2 separate regions of the Homo sapiens genome follow, and region 1 is linked to region 2. The links are contacts of gene promoters, found by promoter capture Hi-C in human tissues and cell types (Jung and others, 2019). All regions are on one chromosome and are shown on one strand. Each heading gives the region's core, a stretch centred on a gene start or on the middle of the fragment in contact. The rest is flanking DNA. Distances are from core to core; before and after follow the strand shown. Region 1 has its middle 26 kb from the start of RIBC2. Region 2 holds the start of FAM118A (family with sequence similarity 118 member A).

What was found. Contacts are between HindIII fragments. The study calls those that stand out against the background at their distance.
Region 1: a fragment that was not itself captured here is called in contact with the fragment with the promoter of FAM118A in region 2 in 1 of the 25 tissues and cell types used here (aorta).

Annotation. Positions count from the first base shown.
Region 1 is chr22:45,438,137-45,441,826 of GRCh38, reverse strand. No RefSeq gene overlaps it. Among named protein-coding and RNA genes, the nearest start is that of RIBC2, 26 kb to the right of the region's middle. The HindIII fragment of the contact is 9,206 bases long and covers 1-3,690 here.
Region 2 is chr22:45,307,739-45,311,548 of GRCh38, reverse strand. It overlaps FAM118A (family with sequence similarity 118 member A), which reads right to left and starts at 1,615. Exons shown (of 9, transcript NM_017911.4): 1 at 1,366-1,615. RefSeq lists an enhancer at 1-553 and a silencer at 1,270-1,949. The HindIII fragment of the contact is 15,582 bases long and covers 1-3,810 here.

The sequences.
Region 1 (3,690 bases), core at 190-2,689, 130 kb before region 2:
CGCGGTGAAACCCCGTCTCTACTAAAAATACAAAAAATTAGCTGGGTGTGGTGGTATGCGCCTGTAGTCCCAGCTACTTGGGAGGCTGAGGCAGAGGCAGGAGAATCGCTTGAACCCGGGAGGCGGAGGTTGCAGTGAGCCGAGATCGCACCACTGCACTCCAGCCTGGGTGGTGACAGAGCAAGACTCTGTCCCAAAAAAAAAAAAAAAAAAGAAAAGAAAAGAAAAGAAAAGGAAACATGTCTCTTTGGAAAAGGTGCTCTAGAGGCCCCTGCTCCATCCCCAACCTTCACCCCATGATCCCTCCTGTAACCAGGCTCAGGACGCTGCTCCACCCAGGAGCATGGGGACCTGTCACCTCATTGCACCAACATTCCAAAGTGGCTGTCGCTTCTGCAGAGGGAGACCCGGTGCAGGTGGAAACCAGATGGCCAGAGGCTATGCTGGGAGCACGAGAGATAGATGTGCCACCTGCTGGTGGACAGCTCTCCAGTAGACAGCAACAGCTCACTGCACATGAGAGAAGAGAGACAGACTCTCTCATATTGTTTTATCTTGTTTTATACTCAGAAAAGGAAAGAAAAGCGAAACGAAATGCAGGTAGCCCGGCGCCTAGGAACCAGACCCGAAACCAGGCCTGGGCCTGCCTGACCTAATCCTGGTAGTTAAAGATCGACCCTGACCTAACCGGTTATGTTATCTATAGATTCCAGACTTTGTATGGAAAGGCATTGCAAAAATCCCTGTCCTGTTCTGTTTCCTTCTGATTACCGGTGCATGCAGCCCCCAGTCATGTACCCCCTGCTTGCTCAATCGATCACGACCCTCTCGCGCGGACCCCCTTAGAGTTGTGAGCCCTTAAAAGGGACAGGAATTGCTCACTGGGGGAGCTCGGCTCTTGAGACAGGAGTCTTACCTGATGCTCCCGGCCGAAAGAACCACTTCCTTCTTTAACTCAGTGTCTGAGGAGTTTTGTCTGCGGCTCGTCCTGCTGCATGCATAACAGATGGTACCCGGTTTCTTAGGGGTCCTCCCTTTGCAGTCCTGTCAGGGGTAGGAGTGTGGTTGGGTTTTCTTTTTCTGTCCGTTTCCATCACTCCAAAAAGTAGCCTCATGCCTGTTTGCCATCAAACCCCCTCACCCTGTCCCAGGCAAGCACTGATGGAATAGTTATCCCAATTCTGGAACTCCCCATAGATAGAATTGTAAACTGTGAACTCCTTTGTATCTGTTACAATGTTTCTGATTATGATTTTTTTTTTTGAGACAGAATTTCGCTCTTGTCACCCAGGCTGGAGGGCAGTGGTGCGATCTTGGCTCACTGTAACCTCTGCCTCCCGGGTTCAAGCAATTCTCCTGCCTCAGCCTCCCAAGTAGCTGGTATTACAGGAACACCCCCCACCCCACCCCTCACCACCATGCCCAGCTAATTTTTTATTTTTATTTTTTATTTCATTTATTTATTTTTTTGAGATGGAGTCTTGCTCTGTTGCCCAGGCTGTAGCGCAGTGGCGTAATCTTGGCTCACTGCAACGTCCACCTCCCGGGTTCAAGCAATTCTCATGCCTCAGCCTCCTGAGTAGCTGGGAGTACAGGCACATGCCACCACGCCCGGCTAATTTTTTGTGTTTTTAGTAGCGATGGGGTTTCACCATGTTAGCCAGGTTGGTCTTGATCTCCTGACCTCGTGATCTGCCCCCTTGGCCTCCCAAAGTGCTGGGATTACAGGCCTGAGCCACTGCGCCCCGCCCTGATTATGATTTCTGATTCTGCCGTTTTGACGGGTATATCAGCAGTTTGTTTCTTTTCAGCTGTGAGTGATAGGAATATAACTTTTGTTTATCTGATCACCTGTTGATAGATATTTTGGTTGATCCAAGTTTGGTGCTATCATGAATAAAGATGCTATAAACATTTCTGTAAAGGTCTTTTTGTGATTTTTTGCTTGTTTTTTTGAGACAGAGTCTCACTCTGTACCCGAGGCTGGAATGAAGTGGCATGATCTCAGCTCACTGCAACATCCACCTCCCTGGTTCAAGTGATTCTCATGCCTCTGCCTCCTGAGTAGCTAGGACTACAGGTGTGCACCTCCACACCTGGCTAATTTTTGTATTTTTAGTAGAGTCAGGGTTTCACCATGTTGGCCAGGCTGGTCTCAAACTCCTGACCTCAGGTAATCCACCTGCCTCAGCCTCCCAAAGTTCTGAGATTACAGGCATGAGCCACTGTACCCGGCCTAAAATTTTTTAAATTTTTTGTAGAGACGAGGTCTCGCTATGTTGACCAGGCTGGTCCTGAACTCCTGACCTCGTGATCCACCTGCTTCGGTGTCCCAAAGTGCTGGGATTACAGGCGTGAGCTACCGCACCTGGCCTTATTTTTATGTTATTTATTTATTTTTATTTTTTATTTTTTGAGATGGAGTCTCACTCTGTTGCCCAGGCTGGAGTGCAGTGGCATGATTTCGGCTCACTGCAATCTCCACCTCCCAGGTTCATGCCATTCTCCTGCCTTAGCCCCCTGAGTAGCTGGGACAATAGGCACCCGACACCATGCCCGGCTAATTTTTTTGTATTTGTAGTAGAGATGGGGTTTCACCGTGTTAGCCAGGATGGTCTCAATCTCCTGACCTCGTGATCTGCCCACCTTGGCCTCCCAAAGTGCTGGGATTACAGGCGCGAGCCACAGCACCTGGCCTTATTTTTATTTTTGTAGACAGAGTCTTGCTGTGTTGCCCAGGTTGGAGTACAGTGGTGTGACCTCAGCTCACTGCAACCTCCGCTTCCCGGGCTCAAGAGATTCTCCTGCCTCAGCCTCCTGAGTAGCTGGGATTACAGGTGCGCACCATCATGCCTGGCTAGTTTGTATTTTTAGTAGAGACAGGGTTTCACCATGTTGGCCAGGCTGGTCTCAAACTCCTGACCTCAGGTCATCTTCCCACTTCGACCTCCCAAAGTGCTGGGATTACAGGCATGAGCCACCGTGCCTGGCCCCCTTCCCATTATTCTAAACATAAGAACTTGAACACAGAATAAAGAACCATGTGCAAATGACTCTATTTTTCTTCCTGTTTATCTTATGGCTTCATTTTAAAATGAATAGGCTATCTTTTAGAACAGTGTTAGGTTTACAAGAAAATTGAGTAACAAGTATAGAGGGTTCCCATATGCTCCCTTCCCATAGGCCCCTAGTTCCCCTATTATTAATGTCTCATGTTAGTGTGGTACATTTGTTACAATTGACTAGCCAACATTGACACATCATCATCACCCAGAGTTTATAATTTACATTAGGGGTCACCCTGTGTACATTCTGTGGATTTTGACAAATGTATAATGACATATACCCAAGGTTACAGCATCACACAGCAAAGTTTCACTGCCCTAAAAATCCTTGTGCTCTCTCTGCCTATTCATCCCTCCCTCCCCTCAGTCCCTGGCAACCACTGATGTTTTTACTGTTTCTATAGCTTTGCCTTTTTTGAAAAGTCAGGCTGGGTGCAGTGGCTCATGCCGTAATCCCAACACTTTGGGAGGCCAAGGTGGGTGGATCATCTGAGGTCAGGAGTTCAATACCAGCCTGGCCAACACAGTGAAACCCAACTCTACTAAAAATACAAAAATTAGACGGGCGTGGTGGTGCACGCCTGTAGTCCCAGCTACTTGGGAGGCTGAGGCAGGAGAATCGCTT
Region 2 (3,810 bases), core at 366-2,865:
TCACTCCCACCTCAAACCCAGTACTCTGCAAAAGTCCCAGCTTCTCCCATACCAGGTCTCTAGCGAGACACTTCCCTCACTTCTCCCCCTGACCACCTCCCACCTTCCTTCAGCTCAGCTGGATCATTTCTCAGGACAATGGCAGGTGCAGTCGTTCAAGAAAGGGCCAAGGGCACGGTGGGCCTCCGGGAGCAAAGCTGGGTTCTCCGCAGTTAGCATTCACTCCCACGCCACCTTCATTAGGTGTGCTCCAGCCACACCTCCCGCCTTCCAACACTGTGTGCCGTGGCAGCCTCTCTGCCTTTTGACATACTGGCTGTCCCCTGAAACTCTGCCTGGAATGACCCTGGCAAACTTCTCCTCTAGCTCAACCTTCAAGAATCAGCTCACCTGCTGCTTAGCATCTCCTCCCCACGACTCCTAAGACGCCCTCCTTAACACCCACCCCTTCCCAGAATCCCATGCCCACCCAGATGGGTTCCCTGCCAGCGACGACACAGCTTCCTCCAGATAAAAACGACCTACTTGTCTTATGCCCCAGGTCCCTAGGCCCTGACAGCAGGGACCGTCTCATCTCTATTTCCAGTGTCAATTCCTGGAGCCTATCAGGCATTCAAAAACAAAATGTTAGTTCCTTGAATGAAAAAATTAAGGAGGAGACAACCTAAAAGCGTCCCCATGTGCCCTAACTCGCTCCCTCCCCGGTTCGGCCGCCCTCGGCCACCTCAGGTCTCCTGCTCTATAGACTGTCCTGTGGGGCCACCTGAGTCTCAGCAGAACATTAAAACTTAAACCCGGCCCTGCACCTGCAGGCGCGGGGACCACAGCTTAGGAGGTGGTCGTCGGGCGCGCTGTTACCGTCTTAAGTTATCACCAGACCTGGGAACACTTCCACCCACGCCCCGCAGGTCCAGGGACCTCAAGTTGGAGAAACCTAGCCCTGAGATCAGGTCGGAGAGGGAGCCTCAGGGTGGGCGGCACGGGGACCCGGGGTCTCGCGGGGCTAAGGACACTGGGAACCACGGCTCCCCACAGGAAGATGCCCCGGGCCTGGGGGCTTCTGAGGAGGTTGCTGGAAGCAAGTCCCAAGGGAACCTCGAGAGTTTCCGGAACCAACAGTTCTCAGGGCCCACTAGCGGCCGGGGTCCTCAGGGGGTCTCGGAGTCCAGAGAAAATCTTGGAGTTTCGGGGTTCGCGGGCCTGGAGGGGCAGGGCGGATCCTGAGGGGGTCTCGGGGGCAGGGGCTCCAGGGGAAGAGCTGAGAGGGAGTCCTGGGGTGGCCCCGGGGCCGGGGCGGATCCTGAGGATCTCGGGGTCCCCAGGGGCTCCGGATGCAGGGACCGCGGGCCCGCCCCGCCCCCTCACCTGCGGCGCCTCCGAGACGCTGGTCCCAGCTCGCGCTGCCACCTCTTCGCCTCCGCAGCCGGCTACGCCTCCGGGGTCTCTCGGCGGCCGCGCACCCCTGACGCTGGGCGGGGCAAGGGGATGGTTCTCGGGGAGGGGACTGCGCAGGCACGCGGGCTAGAAGCGAGAGCGAGAGCCGGAGTCGGAGCCAGAGCGGACGCCACGCCGCCTCCAGGCGCCCCTCCGCGTTAGCCGGCAGCGGCGCCGCCGCAAACCCTTCCCCCGCGCGCCCGCCCCAGCCGCGTGAACGTTCCGTCCCGAAACCAACGGCCCCGCGGTCCCCGGAGGCCCCGCCCCGGGGAAGGGCGAAGCCAGGACGCGCGCCCCGCCCCGCCCCGCCGCCAGATCCTCTGGCACCGCCCACCTCGGTGACCACGGTCCCGCCCACCGGGGAGGCCACGCCCCCGGGGTCTCCAGCGCAGGCGCGGTCGGATGTGCGGGGGAGGGCTTGCGCTGGGGAGCGCTTGGGCCTAGAGTCCGCGTCCTAGCCCTACCTGGCCCGGCGAGCCGCGCGTCCCGTTTCCTCATTTGCAGAAAGGGGGCGGGAGCACTTTGCAGGGACGTGGCGAGCATCAAGTGCGATCGGAAGCGCTCCTTTGCAACTGCATCCTGCACCACACTTAGGCACAGCTTCTGTCCCCAACCCAGACCTGAGGCTGGTCTCCGTCCCCCAGCAGACTCCTGCCCGCTTAAATTGGCCAGTCACCAGCCCTACCTTCTTTCTTTTTCAGAGTACTTGTCACTCTCCGAAATTAGGTACGCTTGTGACTGGCTCCCACTTCCCCTGAGAGCCGGTACCTTGTCCGTCTTGTCCACTGGGGGTTCCCAGAAGCCAGCACGGCGCTGGGCACACCATGGCCGCCCACATGTTTGTGCGTGCGTGAGTGTCTTCCCCGCGCTCTTCCCTCATCAAGAAATACTCTTCCCCGAGGCTGAGAATTTCTCCTAAAAATACAAGAAATACTCTTCCCCAGCTTAGGTTCGATCCGGCGAGGCCCCCTGACTCCTCGCGCATCCCTGTCGCAGGTGCCGCGTCCGTAAAGGGTGTGATCCTAGCACCTACCTTGTGGGTATTGCGAGGACTGAGATTGTGCGTGGGTGGGCTGGGCACGGGCCCCCTAGCGATCTTATTACTCCTCCTTTGTCTGCCACTGAAGTCTTTTACCTAAACAAGACCCAATCCACTTCCTCTTCCCAGCCTGCCCTGCCCAACCTGGAGTCATTTATTACTTCCTGTCTCCTTGGCACCTTTTTTTCCTGCCTGATTTTAAAGTTGGCTGTTAATATCTCCCCCTACCCTAGCCCACCAGAAAGCTCTCATTTTGTGACAGAAGGTAGTGTTGTGTTAGCGGCCTGTGAAATTTTAGGGGGGGCCAGAGCCCAGAAAACAGTGGGAGCAGTGACTCTGGGATGAAGAGGGCAGCCCCTGGGTGCTCTGTATGTGGGGTCAGGCACTCCCTGAGCACTTTGCATGCGTTCCTTCATGGTGTTCTTGGAACAACCCTATGAGGAAGGCGTCTTCATTGTTATTCCAGTTTAACAAGGGGAAGCTCAGGCCCAAGAGGTTGTGTAGTTCCATGCCTCAGCCCACACATGTAACCACCACTGCATACAGCTCCCCAACCCCTGGAGGTGCGACTTAAATGCAAAAAAAGGCCGGTGGCTCACGCCTGTAATCTCAGCACTTTGGGAGGCTGAGGCAGGTGGATCACCTGAAGTCAGCAGTTCCAGACCAGCCTGGGCAACCTGGCAAAACCTCATCTCTACTGAAAATACAAAAATTAGCCGGGCGTGGTGGCGGACACCTGTAATCCCAGCTACTCGGGAGGCTGAGGCAGGAGAATCACTTGAACCCGGGTGGCAGAGGCAGCAGTGAGCTGAGATCATGCCACTTCACTCCAGCCCGGGCAACAGAGCGAGACTCTGTCTCAAAAAAAATTTTTTTTAATGCAAAAGATATATAATTCAGTTCATGAACACCTGCTCCTGTACTGGGTGCTGAAGCCCGAGACCTGTGGGAGATGTGGCCCCTTCCCTCATGGAGCTCCCAGGCCCCAGCAAGGATTTTGATTAACAGGACCTTATGGGCTGGGTGCTGCCGAGGTCAGTCAGACCCAAGACTCTGCGCAGGGCATCCTCTGAGGGGTGGTGGGACCAAAGCAATCGTAACCTCCAGCCACATTCAGCACCATCTGAGATAGGCTGGGAGCCTCAGCCCCTCCACCCAAAAACTCAGCCAGTCAGCCTTACAAGAGCAAGGACAGCAGGAAGGATGCCTCAGGAACAAGGGCTCCCCTTTTCCCCACATCTGAGAGAAACACAGCTTTTTCTCAGGTTGTGGAAAATTACTGAGAGACACTGCCCCCTGGGCACCTTGACCATTCTGAGTAGATAAGGGGGCAGATA